Linked DNA regions of Homo sapiens: region 1 is linked to region 2. Evidence: promoter capture Hi-C in human tissues and cell types (Jung and others, 2019). All regions are on one chromosome and are shown on one strand. Each heading gives the region's core, a stretch centred on a gene start or on the middle of the fragment in contact. The rest is flanking DNA. Distances are from core to core; before and after follow the strand shown.

Region 1 (3,181 bases), core at 146-2,645, 110 kb after region 2:
GATCCACTCGCCTCAGACTCCCGAAGTGCTGGGATTACAGGTGTGAGTCGCCGCACCCAGCCAGAAGACTCAAAATATATGCGACAACGCTGTATGATTTAGGGTAGTCACCAAAAGTACTCTATGCTCATACAGTAGGTACTCATTTTAGAGAATGCTCAGTTTACTAGTCGCACAACACATGGGAAGTAGACATTGTAAAAATAATCAAGATATTTTGGTATAAAAACAAGTGTTGGCCGGGCGCGGTGGCTGAAGCCTGTAATCCCAGCACTTTGGGAGGCCGAGGCAGGTGGATCATGAGGTCAGGAGATCGAGACCATCCTGGCTAACACGGAGAAACCCCGTCTCTATTAAAAATACAAACAATTAGCCGGGCATGGTGGTGGGCGCCTGTAGTCCCAGCTACTCAGGAGGCTGAGGCGGGAGAACGGCGTGAACCCGGGAAGCAGGGCTTACAGTGAGCCGAGATGGCGCCACTGCACTCCAGCCTGGGTGACAGAGCAAGACTCCGTCTCAAAAACAAAACAAAACAAGTGTTGCTGGGCGCAGTGCCTCACATCTGTAATCCCAGCAATTTGGGAGGCTGTCTCTACTAAAACTACAAATATTAGCCAGGCGTGGTGGTGCATGACGCATGCCTGTAATCCCAGCTACTCACGGGATGGCTCATGCCTGTAATCCCAAAACTCTGGAAATTCCATCTCTACTAAAAATACAAAAATTAGCCTGGCATGGTGGCACGTGCCTGTAATCCCAGCAACTCAGGAGGCTGAGGTGGGAGAATGGCGTGAACCTGGGAGGCGGAGCTTGCAGTGAGCTGAGGTCGCACCACTGCACTCCAGCCTGGGTGACAGAGCAAGACTCCGTCTCAAAAACAAAAAACAAAACAAAAACAAAAAACAAAAAACAAAAAACAAAACAAGTGTTGCTGGGCGCAGTGCCTCACACCTGTAATCCCAGCAATTTGGGAGGCTGTCTCTAATAAAATTACAAATAATAGCCGGGCGTGGTGGTGCGTGGCGTATGCCTGTAATCCCAGCTACTCACGGGATGGCTCATGCCTGTAATCCCAACACTTTGGAAATTCCATCTCTACTAAAAATACAAAAATTAGCTGGGCATGGTGGCACGTGCCTGTAATCCCAGCTACTCAGGAGGCTGAGGCAGGAGAATCGCTTGAATCTGGGAGGTGGAGGGTGCAGTGAGCCGAGGTTGTGCCACTGCACTCCAGCCTGGATGACAGAGCAAGACTCCATCTCAAAACAACAACAACAACAACAAACACGTGTTATGCTTAACTTCCTAACAAAAAGGAATTACTCATTAGAGATATCTATTAGAAGGGAATCTTATAAGCAACAAACTTTTTTTTTTTTTGGTAGAACAAATATTTTGCTTACTCGAGGACAGCGATGAGACTCTCAGAACAATCTGACAGCTGATCAGGACTTAAAGGACAAGAGGCTGAAAACAAAACAAAAAAACAACCATGATATACACACACTCAACTATAAAATGCTGTAGCCAATGTTTCAGAGAGCGAAATACCTGAAAGCAGTGGTATCTGTATCACACGCTGCCACGCTTTGCTGAAGTAGGGAACCTGTGAAAACAAGTCCACGTTTGGGATATTCATGTTAAGGATATTACAAACTCTCTTTAATTTGCAGTCTAGGCCAGGCGCGGTGGCTCACACCTATAATCCCAGCACTTTGAAAGGCTGAAGCAGGTGAATCACTTGAGGTCAGGAGTTCGAAACCAGCCTGGCCAATATGGCAAAACCCCGTCTCTACTAAAAATACAAAAATTAGCCAGGCATGGTGGTGCATGCTTGTAATCCCAGCTACTCGGGAGGCTGAGACACAAGAATCGCTTGAACCCGGGAGGCGGAGGTTGCCTGGGTGACAGAGCGAAACTCCATCTCGAAAAAGGTATTATGAACTCTCTTTAAATTGCAGCCTAAATGTTCTGAAATTAGATAATGGTGATGGTTGTACAATTTTATGAATATAGCAGAAACTACTTGATTGTATACTTTCAAAAGGATGAATTTTACAAGTGAATTGTATCTCAACAAAAAAATTAGATAAATCGCTATGCGCTGATACGGAACACTCTCTAGAGGCCGCTGTTAAATGGTCACAAAACTGTACATTTATAGTTTATATTCCAGATGACTAAAATCATAAGCTGATATCTCCCTGTTTGAGATGATTAAGGTTCTAGCATAATGTTCTTCATAACTGTATCTTTCAGGATCTCATTATACAATCCTTGCTGATTCATTATTCCATTTGGCAAAAAGTCAGAACCCAACTCAGAAAAGAAAATTAATCCTTAGCCGGTTATGTGCCAGGGCCACAGGAAAGAAGGAAGGGGACAAGAGAAAGAATTTCAAGAAGGTGAATAAGGAAAGAACACTGGCCAGGCGCGGTGGCTCACACCTGTAATCCCAGTACTTTGGGAGGCCAAGGCAGGAGGATTGTTTCAGCTCAGGAGTTCTAAGACCAGCCTAGGCAACATAGCAAGACCTCCATCTCTATACATTTAAAGAAAAAAAAGAGGAAAGAAAATGTAAACTTCCATCAATAGAGGAGTGGTTAAGTAACTTCAGGTATATTTTACCACATATTCTGGAGAATAATCAAGCATTAAAAATAATAAAATACCTCAAAAGGCTAAACATAGAGTTACTGTAAGACCCAACAAGCCCACTTCTAGGTATATACTCAGGAGAAATGAAAACATGTTCAGTGAAAACTTGTACACAAATGTTCATAGCAGCATTATTTATAATGACCAAAAATAGAAACTCAAATCTTTATCAACTGGCAAATGGATAAATAAAAGTGGTATATCCATATAATGGAACATTATTTGGCAATAAAGACGAATGAAGTTCTGATCCATGCTACAATGTGGATGCTGAGTGAAAGAAGCCGGACACAAAATCCCACATAGTGTGGGATTCTGTTGATACAAAATGTCCAGAATAGGCAAATCCATGGACAGAAAGTAAATTAGTGGTCACTGGGGGCTGGAGGGAGTGGGGAATGGGGAATGATTGCTAATGGATATGAATTTTCTTTTTGGGGTGAGGAAAATGTTCTGGAATTAGATAATGGTGAGGCTGTACAACTCTGTGCATATACCAAAAACTACTTCATTGTGTATTTTA
Region 2 (3,250 bases), core at 696-3,195:
GGAGTGGTGGGGACTGTGGCAAACAGTAAAGCTCATTCTCTGTCTACAGGGGCTCATTCTCTGTCTCTACTCCATCTACTCTAAGCTCCAGCTGATTGTTTCCATGTGGGAGTGTCGGTCCAGTGTGGCCAGATCTTCCAGTGTTCTAAGAGACAACAGAAATCCAGGTTTTTATAGGACTGCACCAGGTTTTAAAAACATATCGGCCAAGCCAGGCTGGTTTTTAAACCAGATATGGTCCACAGGCCATCATTCTAGCCCCTTGGCAGATTGAAGGGAGCTAGTGAAGATTTTTAAGTGAAAAAAGGTATATGATAATATCTGTGCTTCAGAAAAATCAGATTATTGTGTAGAAGATGACTTACAGGAAATAGATGAGAGGAAGGGAAACCAGTTAGGAAACTGTTTCAACAGTTCAGGTGGGAAGTGACTGCGGTCTGTGCTAGGGCGAGGCAGGGGAGAATGTGGGTGGACAGATTTGGAGTCCAGCATCCAGTGGGAAGAATTTAGCTTCAGTGTGCATCTAGAAGACAGACACATTCTTTCAATGCACCCCCTCTTTTCCGCCCCATTTTTTTTTTTTGAGACAGAGTTTCTTTCTGTCACCCAGGCTGGAGTTCATTGGCACGATCTCGGCTCACTGCAACCTCCACCTCCCGGGTTCAAGTGATTCTCCTGCCTCAGCCTCCTGAGTAACTGGGATTACAGACACATGCCACAACACCTGACTGATTTTTGTATATTTTTAGTAGAGATGGGGTTTCACCATGTTGGCAAGGCTGGTCTTGTACTCCTGACCTCAAGTCATCCACCTGCCTCGGCCTCCCAAAGTGCTGGGATTATAGATGTGAGCCACCGCGACTGGCCTCCACCCCATTTTCTTCTTTCTTTCTTTTTTCTTTTTCTTTTTCTTGTTGTTTTGTTTGTTTGTTTGTTTGTTTGTTTTAGACGGAGTCTGGTTCTGTCACCCAGACTGGAGTGCAGTGGCGCAATCTTGGCTCCCTGCAAGCTCTGCCTCCCGGGTTCACGCCATTCTCCTGCCTCAGCCTCCCGAGTAGCTGGGACTACAGGCGCCCGCCACCACGCCTGGCTCATTTTTTTGTATTTTTAGTAGAGACGGGGTTTTACCGTGTTAGCCAGGATGGTCTCCATCTCCTGACCTGGTGATCCGCCCGCCTGGGCCTACCAAAGTGCTTGGATTACAAGCGTGAGCCACCGCGCCCGGCCTCCACCCCATTTTCTAAACTGGAAGCTGAAAGGCACAGGGCAGATTAATAATCCTTAAAGCCAAAGGACAGGAAATTTTAGCAAAGACTCCAATTTTTTGTGCAGTCTAATGTTACTCATGATTGCTTTAGAGATGGACTCCTTAATCAACTCCTCCAATCCTCTTCCGCCCCCAGGGGGCAGTTTTAATTGATGGGCTCAGCACATAATTGAAATTAAAAACGTACATCTCATGGTGTTTGGCTCATTCAACAGCCAATGGAAACTCAGGGCCAAATCTTTGTAAAAGTTCTAGGCTCTGCTTCCCAGCAGAGGGGGAAACCGGCTCCCAAAGAGGCCGTTTTGTGGAGACAGACATATGAGAAGTGGGCTTCAGATCTATTTCATGGTCTTGGTGGTTGTGCAACTGGCCACTTTGGTTCACGGAAGGATGTAAAGGGCAGGGAGGTGGGAATAGAGCGGGGGAAAGGTGACTCCCGTCAAAGAATTTTTCTAACATCCATCAAGTATCGTGATTAGAACTTTTCTCTCCGCAGACTCCTCCAATTTTTGAGCGCGGTATTTTTCGGCACAGGAAATGGCCCGGAGGAGCTGCAGAGCAAAGCCTCCCCTCTCTGGCACCGCATGGGAGTGCCCCGTGGGATGAGGGAGAGGACAAGGCAGTCAGGCAAAGGTTACGGGAGGAAAGCAAAGGCAGGAGCCCAGAACCACTCCAGGAAATGTTTGGATTTCTCCACCAGGAGGGAGGACAAACAAGCTTTCTTCTTGCCTTCTGGGCAGCTTTGTGTGCTCTCCAGCACGGAGTCCGAGGAGGAACAGCGAAGCTGAAAATGAAAATTACTCTGGCGCTGGACCCAATCGCTCCTCTACGGCATCAATCTCATCGGACCCCCCCACCCTACCGCCTCTCAGAAATGACCACTTTTGCAAAATTGCATGCATTTCCAAGCTTCATCCGGCTCCAGGCTTGGCCTCTCCCAGAGGCAGGCGGCTTGTGAGACGGGCTCCAGAGAAAGGACCTCCCTGGGTCTCTCATTTCCTGGCTGAAGTTTCTCTTCTCGCTGCTGTGGCAGCATCCAACCCACACACACAGGACCCGCATCCTGGGTGATGAAGTCAGACACGCAGCAGCTGGGTGAGTGCTAACGCTCAGATAAGCATCTGTGCCATTGTGGGGACTCCCTGGGCTGCTCTGCACCCGGACACTTGCTCTGTCCCCGCCATGTACAACGGGTCGTGCTGCCGCATCGAGGGGGACACCATCTCCCAGGTGATGCCGCCGCTGCTCATTGTGGCCTTTGTGCTGGGCGCACTAGGCAATGGGGTCGCCCTGTGTGGTTTCTGCTTCCACATGAAGACCTGGAAGCCCAGCACTGTTTACCTTTTCAATTTGGCCGTGGCTGATTTCCTCCTTATGATCTGCCTGCCTTTTCGGACAGACTATTACCTCAGACGTAGACACTGGGCTTTTGGGGACATTCCCTGCCGAGTGGGGCTCTTCACGTTGGCCATGAACAGGGCCGGGAGCATCGTGTTCCTTACGGTGGTGGCTGCGGACAGGTATTTCAAAGTGGTCCACCCCCACCACGCGGTGAACACTATCTCCACCCGGGTGGCGGCTGGCATCGTCTGCACCCTGTGGGCCCTGGTCATCCTGGGAACAGTGTATCTTTTGCTGGAGAACCATCTCTGCGTGCAAGAGACGGCCGTCTCCTGTGAGAGCTTCATCATGGAGTCGGCCAATGGCTGGCATGACATCATGTTCCAGCTGGAGTTCTTTATGCCCCTCGGCATCATCTTATTTTGCTCCTTCAAGATTGTTTGGAGCCTGAGGCGGAGGCAGCAGCTGGCCAGACAGGCTCGGATGAAGAAGGCGACCCGGTTCATCATGGTGGTGGCAATTGTGTTCATCACATGCTACCTGCCCAGCGTGTCTGCTAGACTCTATTTCCTCTGGACGGTGCCCTCGAGTGCCTGCGATCCCTCTGTCCATGGGGCCCTGCACATAACCCTCAGCTTCACC

What was found. The method cuts DNA at HindIII sites, captures the fragments that hold promoters and counts their contacts. A contact is called where the count stands out against the background at its distance.
Region 1: a fragment that was not itself captured here is called in contact with the fragment with the promoter of HCAR1 in region 2 in 4 of the 25 tissues and cell types used here (lymphoblastoid cells, mesenchymal stem cells, spleen and 1 more).

The regions. Positions count from the first base shown.
Region 1 is chr12:122,616,768-122,619,948 of GRCh38, reverse strand. KNTC1 (kinetochore associated 1) reads right to left here. Exons shown (of 64, transcript NM_014708.6): 58 at 1,552-1,606; 59 at 1,404-1,467. Among named protein-coding and RNA genes, the nearest start is that of MIR9902-1, 78 kb to the left of the region's middle. The HindIII fragment of the contact is 6,913 bases long and covers 1-3,181 here.
Region 2 is chr12:122,729,539-122,732,788 of GRCh38, reverse strand. HCAR1 (hydroxycarboxylic acid receptor 1) reads left to right here and starts at 1,945. Exons shown (of 1, transcript NM_032554.4): 1 at 1,945-3,250. The coding sequence starts at 2,450. RefSeq lists an enhancer at 2,516-3,183. The HindIII fragment of the contact is 12,382 bases long and covers 1-3,250 here.